Regions from separate parts of the Homo sapiens genome. Here all the other regions are linked to region 2. The links are contacts of gene promoters, found by promoter capture Hi-C in human tissues and cell types (Jung and others, 2019). All regions are on one chromosome and are shown on one strand. The core of a region is centred on a gene start or on the middle of the fragment in contact, and the rest is flanking DNA. Distances in the headings are between cores, read along the strand shown.

Evidence for each region. Contacts are between HindIII fragments. The study calls those that stand out against the background at their distance.
Region 1: a contact is called between a fragment that was not itself captured here and the fragment with the promoter of IQCF6 in region 2, in 2 of the 25 tissues and cell types used here (heart right ventricle and thymus).
Region 3: a contact is called between a fragment that was not itself captured here and the fragment with the promoter of IQCF6 in region 2, in 2 of the 25 tissues and cell types used here (mesendoderm cells and thymus).

What each region holds. Positions count from the first base shown.
Region 1 is chr3:51,827,488-51,830,187 of GRCh38, reverse strand. IQCF3 (IQ motif containing F3) reads right to left here and starts at 762. Exons shown (of 3, transcript NM_001393887.1): 1 at 695-762; 2 at 476-523. The coding sequence starts at 712. The HindIII fragment of the contact is 8,072 bases long and covers 1-2,700 here.
Region 2 is chr3:51,777,658-51,780,692 of GRCh38, reverse strand. It overlaps IQCF6 (IQ motif containing F6), which reads left to right and starts at 1,456. Exons shown (of 2, transcript NM_001368369.1): 1 at 1,456-1,540; 2 at 1,702-2,130. The coding sequence starts at 1,469. The coding sequence ends at 2,070. All of the region lies in intron 2 of LOC105377087 (a long non-coding RNA gene), which reads right to left. The HindIII fragment of the contact is 12,191 bases long and covers 1-3,035 here.
Region 3 is chr3:51,714,430-51,717,315 of GRCh38, reverse strand. It overlaps GRM2 (glutamate metabotropic receptor 2), which reads right to left. Exons shown (of 6, transcript NM_000839.5): 4 at 1,179-2,254. Among named protein-coding and RNA genes, the nearest start is that of GRM2, 8.8 kb to the right of the region's middle. RefSeq lists an enhancer at 9-866. The HindIII fragment of the contact is 7,924 bases long and covers 1-2,886 here.

The DNA.
Region 1 (2,700 bases), core at 146-2,645, 50 kb before region 2:
GGGTTTATGGGACTAGCGGAGACACTTTCTGGTCCAGAAGACCCAACTGGAAGACCAGGGTGTGAGGAACTGAAGGATTCTTATAAGAATCCATGAACCTCTGCATTTATGGCCTGTGTCTTGGTCCAAACTCCAGCCATGATGCTGCCTCCTAATGTCTTGCGTGGTGCTGCAGCCCTTTGGGGTCTCCCCTCATCTCACTTTTGTGGACTTCCACTACCATGTCTCAGTCCCTCCTCATTCTCCTGGGCCTTTCCACTTCCTGTGCTGAGCCCCACCTATCAGGTGGCTGTGCGCACGAAACTTCCTCCCCTTTTACTGTCTATCTCCATACCTTACTCAGTTCACCAAGGAGAGGGAGGGCTTGAGGGGATAAGAGGGCAATGCTGAGCCAGAGATGGATCTCCATTCTAAGAACTCTGGGATCAAAGAGTCAATGATCTGCAATTCTCTCACCCTCCTGGGCCCCACCTACCTTCTGCCGCCTCTGTCTTTCTACTGCATCTTCATCTGGACCACCTTTCTGCAATCGGAATATGGGTGTGGGGGAGCATGGGTGAGGACCAGCCTGACTGCAAAGTCCCCACAGGCCCAGTTCCCCATTCTTTGCCTGGGTCCTAAGAAGTGGCCTGGTGCTTTCCTGGGCCATGGGACAACTCCCACCCCTGGGGGAGTTTGTGTGCCTGAGTCTTACACAGCATTTACTGCCCATGGTTTGGAGCAGTGGTTCAGGTGATCATCTCCCTCTGGTTGCTGTTTCCTGATCTTGGCAGGGGCAGGAAAGGTGGAGAAAGAGATGGCCGTGATGTCACAAAGGCAACTATGACCAGGGGCCACAGTGCCTTTTCCAGGCTCAAAGTTGATGGATAAAGAGAAAATACCTGGCTCTCCTGTTGACTTCCTTGGGCAACTCTCTGTTGAGGAAAAATTGTGCAAATATCATTTCTCAGATTGTCATCTGCCTGTTAACTTTTTTCATGGTTGCCTTTCCTTCCACAGTTATCTTTAATTTTTGATATGCTCAAATCCATTGCCCCTTTACAATTCTGCTTTTGTAGTTTTCTAATAAAGTGCTTTTCCATCCAGGATCATAGATTTTTCTATTAGATTCTGGTCTACCTTTTACATTAAGGTGTTTTAACATTTAATGTAAATGTTTTTATAAGACATTTACAATTAGAAATGACAAAGGGGATGTTACCACGGACCCCACAGAAATAAAAATAACCATCAGAGACTATGCACACAAACTAGAAAACCTAGAAGAGATGGATAAATTCCTGGACACATACACCCTCCCGAGACTGAAGCAGGAAGAAATTGATTCCCTGAACAGACTAATAATGAGCTCTGAAATTGAATTAGTAGTAAATAGCTTACCAACAAAATAAAGCGCAGGACAAGAAGGATCCACAGCTGAATTCTATCAGATGAACAAAGAAGAGCTGGTCCCATTCCTACTGAAACTATTCCAAAAAATTGAGGAGGAAAGGCCCCTCCCCAGCTCATTCTATGAGGCCAGCATCATCCTGATACCAAAACCTGGCAACAACAAAACTTTAGGTCAATATCCTTGACAAACATTTATGCAAAAATCCTTAACAAAGTACTTGCAAACTGAATCCAGCAGTTCATCAAAAAGCTAATCCACCACGATCAAGTAGGCTTCATCCCTGGAATGCAAGGTTGGTTCAACATATGCAAATCAATAAAATGTGATTAATCACATAAACAGAATTACAGACAAAAACCACATGATTATCTTAATAGATTCAGGAAAAGCTTTTGATGAAATTCAACATCTCTTCATGTTAAAAACTCTCAATAAACTAGGTACTGAAGGGACATAACCTCAAAATAATAAGAGCCATATATGACAAACCCACAGCCAACATCATACTGAACAGACAAAAGCTGAAAGCATTCCGCTTGAAAACTGGCACAAGACAAGGATGGCCTCTCTCACCACTCCTATTCAACATGGTATTGGAAGTCATCTTGTAGCTTCAGAACATCAAGGAAAAAGAAGATCCTAAAAGTTTCCAGAAAGAAAAAAAAATAGGTCACATCCCACAAACAAAGGAATCAGAGTGATAAAAGACATTATATTAGTCGGTTCTTGCACTGCTATAAAGAAATACCTTTAAAAAAAGAAAAAAAAATACCTGAGACTGGGTAATTTATAAAGAAAAGAGGTTTAATTGTCTCACAGTTCTGCAGGCTGTCCAGGACTCATAGTGGCTTAGTAAACCAACATAGGAACAGGAAACCAAGTACCACATATTCTCACTTAGAAGCGGGAACTGAATAATGAGAATTATTATGGACACAAAGGGAAACAACAGACACTGGGGACCATTTGAGGGTGGAGGGTGGGAGGAGGGAGAGGAGCAGAAAAGTAACTATTGAGTACTAGGTTTAGTACCTGGGTGATGAAATAATCTGTACAACAAACCCCTATGACACGAGTTTATCTATATAACAAACCTACACATATACCCCTGAACCTAAAATAAAAGTTAAAAACCAAAACCAAAACTAAAAACCACCAACAAAAAAGAACTTCATGTACCTTGTTTAAAAAAACTTACAATGATAAATTAATTATAAAAATTATGAATAATTATAATCTAGCATTTATAAAAATTATAAACATAATTATAAATTAATTATAAAAATTGTAATTAATAAAAAAGGACA
Region 2 (3,035 bases), core at 207-2,706:
AATGTTTCTTCATAGGATGATTTTACAACTGCATTGTCTACAGAAATATTCTTATGATTGACATTTGGTATGCATAAAGCATGTGATTTTTCACACTGACTTCCACGTTGTTTACAGTAGCTCTGCTGGTTGTGCCCTACAATCACAGGAATTCAGATAAATTCTATTTCACAAAATTCCCACCAAGAAAAGAAAAAAGTATGGAAATGTTTAAAATTGTATCATTGCATTGTCAAGTATATTCCTGAAAAGAGAGAGCTTCAATTTTAATCAGGCATCAATGAGACTTGAATCTTCCACTTATAGTTTTACACATCTAATAACAGGAAGAATTTTCTACAGACTGGCTTCTGGTTCCATACTTTTCACATTTACTTTTCCTCCCCTGCCCAAATACTTTTGGTGCCAGCACTGGAAGACACGTTCTTATTGGATAGCAGCCCTTCTGTTCCTGCATCTTCACGCCATGAGCAAGGTGAATGAACACAGCAACAGCAGAATGGCTAGCAAGGATTTATGTGTTCCCAAGGGTGACTGTGAACCACACAAATCTATGCTGTTAAACTGAGTCTAGGCCGGGCGCGGTGGCTCACGCCTGTAATCCCAGCACTTTGGGAGGCAGAGGAGGGCGGATCACGAGGTCAGGAGATCGAGACCATCCTGGCTAACACAGTGAAACCCCGTCTCTACTAAAAAGACAAAAAATTAGCCGGGCGTGGTGGCGGGCACCTGTAGTCCCAGCTACTCAGGAGGCTGAGGCAGGAGAATGGCCTGAACCTGGGAGGCGGAGCTTGCAGTGAGCCGAGATTGTGCCACTACACTCCAGCCTGGGCGACAGAGCGAGACTCTGTCTCAAAAAAAAAAAGAAAAAAAAAAACTGAGTCTATCCCAACTCAGCCTTCCCTTAGTCTCGTGGCAAAAGAGGTTGCCATTCCACCCCACTCAACAGGAGGTGAGTGACAGAGGGAGTAAGAGGGAAGAGAGACAGAGGTCCTCTCCAATTGCAGCTGAAATATCTTGCTTTCACAAATTTTACCCAAAAATATACAGCTCTGTAAACACGTTCCTCGGGCCCTGACAGGCGCCCTGACACTTAAGCTTCAGGAAATCCAAATTGGCTATGAGTAGAGGCTTAAAGTAAAACTCCTTCCTTGTAGGTAAGCTGCATGACTCTCTCTTCACTGCCATCAGGAGGATCAGGAATGCCACTGGGGCTGAGAAATAAACTGAAGGCAAGAGATAATGGTAGGCTCCCAAAGTGGTGGGAATCAATAAAGCAAAAGAGATGAAAGCAAGAGAAGAGGAGAGAGAAATGTGGTTAAAATGCGTGCAGACGGGACCTGATGAGGTAGAGTCTTGTGTGCAAGTGGGCGGAGTCCAATGATGGAGGTGTGACTAACAGTTGAGGGTGGGGCTAAAGACAAGGGTGGCCTAAGTGACAGATAAGTGGACCCTAAGGATCAAGGCCATGGACACGCAAAATGTGAGTAAGGCCCTTGCAGTAGGGACTTACCTGACAGGTAATGAACCGTGTCTAAATGTGAGTGGGGGATTGGAAACAAGATGGATGGGCCCTAGAAACAAGAAGTCAGGGGCACCTGGGCCAGGCCTTCTTTCCTCCCAAGATCAGAGATGGGGATAGGAACAGGAGGGGAGGGTCCCCCATTGAGCATCTCCCTGTTTTTCCTTTCCCCCAATCAGTTAGAGAAGACAGCCATAAAGATTCAGTCATGGTGGCGTGGAAACATGGTGCGCCGGACGTTACTGCAGGCAGCACTCAGAGCCTGGGTCATCCAGTGCTGGTGGAGGTCAATGCAGGCCAAGATGTTGGAGCAAAGACGGCGCCTGGCACTAAGACTCTATACCTGCCAGGAGTGGGCGGTGGTGAAGGTGCAGGCACAGGTTCGAATGTGGCAGGCCCGCAGGCGGTTCCTCCAGGCACGCCAAGCGGCCTGCATCATCCAGTCTCACTGGCGCTGGCATGCCAGCCAAACCCGAGGCCTGATCCGGGGCCACTATGAGGTCAGAGCCAGCCGGCTGGAGCTTGACATCGAAATCCTCATGACCTAGGGCGCTGACAGAGCCAAGGAGGCTGGATCTCTCTTCCAATAAAGACCCTTACTGACCATACACTTGCCCTTTGGAGATTAGACTCATGGAGGAGGGTTCAGCCTCTAAGTTTTCTGCCTTCCCCCCAGAAAGATTCCCTGGTGTGGTCTAGAGCCCCTGTCCTCAGGTCACCAACCTAGGCCCCTGTTCCTAACAGCATACCGGGACAGTCTTGCATCCAAGAGAGACCCCAGGGCCCAGGTCAAGCAATGATGCCTCAGTCAGCCTGATTTTGGCCCCTTCCACAGTGGGAGTAGGCATTGGGCTTTAGTTTCCTGCAGCCCCTGTCCAGGCATCTCCATTCAGATCAGAAGATCAGAGAATCTGGCTGCAGCCAGGGCCAGCTGGGAAGGCCAGGATTCCACAGGCCTGTGCTTGGCAAGGCCCTCAGGGCCGGCAGAGTGCTTGGCAGGGAGCCAGGAGGACATGGCACTTCAGCTGGGCAACAGCAGGACAGACGCTGTGCCTTATGGTGGGGAAGGGAGTCAGGGAGCAGCCAGCCAGAGCCAGCCCCTGGGGAAGCCAGAGCAGGAGCTGAGGGCAGCAGCTGTGCCTGCCGCCTGCCCACCCTGGGGCTGAACAACAAGGCTTCCCTCCCCTCTGCTGGGCACTTCCTTGGAGAACCAGGCATGGGATCAGGGAGGGGAGAGAGACTTGGGGGCTGTGGGGGGATGGTTGTGGGGGTGGCATGGGGGCAGGTAAACAAACAGAGGACTAGGGATAGGCAGGGGAAAGGGTTGTCCCTCTGCCACTGGAGGTCATTGGGCACACAGCCTCTAAATCCTATAATGTCCTCAGAAGCAGCTGTGCTCCTCCTCCACCCCCATGTCCCCTCTCTGGCCTCCCCCCAGGATGCCTCACCGTCTGCTGGGCCTGCCTTGGGTGGGTGCTGCTGGGCTACTGCTTTGCTAAGTCTCTCTCTGTCT
Region 3 (2,886 bases), core at 287-2,786, 63 kb after region 2:
CATGTATGTGGGGTGGTGAATTTCTGCAGGTGTCTGCGTGAGTGTATGTGTGCGTGAGTGTAGGGTGCATGGGTATGGATTCATTTGTCAGGAAGATATATGTGTGTGTGCCAGCGAGTGTGTGTATGTGGGATATGTGTGTGTGCATGCATGCATGTGGCTATGTCTGTGTGTACAAGTGTGTGTGTGTGTGTGCATGCATGTGTGGGTACGGTGTGTGTCTCAGGTGAGTCCTTAGCTGCCTGTGATTGGCATGCAAATGCAAATCATATGCAAATGCAGGCTGAGTCAGAGCAGAATCCCTCCCCAGCCCTGGCCTCTACCACCCAAGCAGGTGGCCCAGCAGGTGCAAGCAGAGCAGCCAAGCCCAGCGGTCCCTGGCCCCCAGCACTGTGCCACCACACCTCTGTCCTGGGGAAGGGGCCTTTGCCGGGGCTTTCGCCTCAATTTTTCTGCAGTTCAGACCCTGCTCTGCACTCCCAAGCTGAGTGACCTTGGGCAAGGGATTGAACCTCCCTGAGTCTCTGTTTCTTCATCTGTAAAACGGGAGAGCCATGGAGCTTACTCAAGTTATGAAGATTAACCAAGATAATCTTCTTACTCAGAACATAGCTCATCTGTCACCTCCTCAGAGAGGGCTTCCCTGACCACCCTATCTGAAGCAGCCATTGCCCCTTGGAGCTGGGGAGACCCATTGAGACACAGTGCCAGTTGGAACCAAATTTGCTCAGAAGCCACCAACTGGGGAACAATTTTCACCTGCTTTAGCTTTTCTCAACTCTATACCCTGGATCTCCTCCCCTACCCACCTTGCTTCATCTTTCCTGCCTTCCCTGGCTTCATCTCTCAACCCCTTCTGCAGATGACCCCTCAGTGGAGCAGGGCAGAACCCTGTCCATTTGAACATATTTCTGCACCCCCATCACCTTCCAGGATAGGGGATGACATTCAAGTCCTGAAATCTCAGCTCTCTCTAACTCGAGTTCCCCACCTCCCTGGCCATTTCCCTAGGTCCTATTCAGCCCTCCCACCTTCCCCTTGGGATCCACACAAGCTGTGGTCCCCTGAGTGGGCATTATCCTCTTGGAACCCCAGAGCTACCAGTAGATTAAATAAGATACCAGGAAACAGAGGGTCTGGTGTCCCATCTCCCCCGACCTCTGTGGCAGGTAGCTCACCCGGTAGTCACTGGAGGTGACATAGAAGATGGGCAGGAATGCCAGCCAGATGATGCAGGTGGTGTACATGGTGAAGCCAATGAACTTGGCCTCGTTGAAGTTTTCGGGGCACTTGCGAGTCTTGAAGGCATAAAGCGTGCAGAGCGCGATGAGGAGCACATTGTAGGCCAGCGAGCCCAACATACTTGCATCGCGGTGGTTGCAGCGCAGTGTCACCACCTCCCGCCGTTCGGGGGCTGTCTCCTTGCCTGTGCCCGGTGCCTCCACCACCAGCCAGGCGACCACGATGAGCAGCTGGCCCGAGATAAGTGCCAGGCAGATGGCCACCTGTGAGGCAGGACTGATGAAGCGTGGCCGCTGGGCACCCTCCCGGGCCCCACCGAAGATGCGTGCAATGCGGTTGGTCTTGGTGAGCAGGGCTGAGTAGCAGACAGAGAAGGCAGTGCCCAAACCAAGACGCCGTAAGGTACACACTGCCGTGGATGGCTTGGCAATGAAGATGAAGGTCATGCAGTAGCAGAGGAAGACACCACCCAGCAGGATGTAGCAGAGCTCCCGACCTGAGGCCTTGACCACTGGTGTGGCATTGTGCCGCACAAAGACACCCAGCACAAAGAGGGTGGCCAGGGCACCGAGGCAGGCGATGGTGACAGGTCCCACAGCCCAGGCATCGCCCCAGCGGATGTACTCCTGGGGCAGTTCGAAGCAGCCAGTCAGGCTGGCATTGGGCCAGTAGCCCAGGCCACAATCAGCGCAAGTGAATTCGTCCAATCGGTACTCATAGGGCTGGCACGGAATGCAGAGCCAGCAGCAGACTTCGCCCGGCTGCACACTCTTCACCTCATTCTGGAGGCAGGGCTCACTGCAGCGAGAGGCGGGCAGGGGGCCGGCTGAGGGTGAGGCCCATGGGATGAGGCTGGTGTCCAGAGTCAAGCCTTCTGCCCAGTAGCCCACCTTCTGGTAGCGATAGCGCCCACTGCCTGCACGCAGATAGGTGAAGATGTTGTAGCGGCCAATACCATCACCAAAGCGGTCAAAGCGGACCTCATTGTGGGTGTCAGCTGGGCGAAAGGGGGCTAGGATGGGGGAGGGAAGGAAGAGAAGGTTGGACTAGTGTGTTACCCTGATGTGACCTCAACATTCACCCTAACATGGAACCCAAATGCCAGAGCTAAGACCACCATTAGCCCTTCCAATCCTTAACCCAATACTAAATCCTGCCTTGACCCCAATCATTTTTCTAAATGAGAGATGACAACAAAGTCTTACTCCTAAACTCCAACATCAAACCCCAACCCTAAATGCCAAATGTAATCCCAGCCTTAAAGCCCAGACATCTCCAAAAACCTAATGCCCACATCAATCCCCAACCATGACTCCCCAAATTCAACTTTAGTACTATCCAACACTTTCCAACCCAGGCTCCAAATCCCAACTTCATCGAAACATACACTACAGCCCTCTCCCCAAACTCAATGCTAAGGCTAAACCCAGTCTCAGCTCCAATCCTGTCCCCACTAATCCTAACAACAACCCCAGCTCCAGCACCCCTAGTCCTAACAGTCATCCTGGTGCAAACTGAATCCCAACCTCACTGGTCACCTGCAACCACTGCCATTCACCAGAATGTGGTCAGTGGCTGGAAAATCACTTCCTCTCTCCACCCCCACTTCATCCCCTGTAAACCTCACATCTCCCAGCCAGGCTC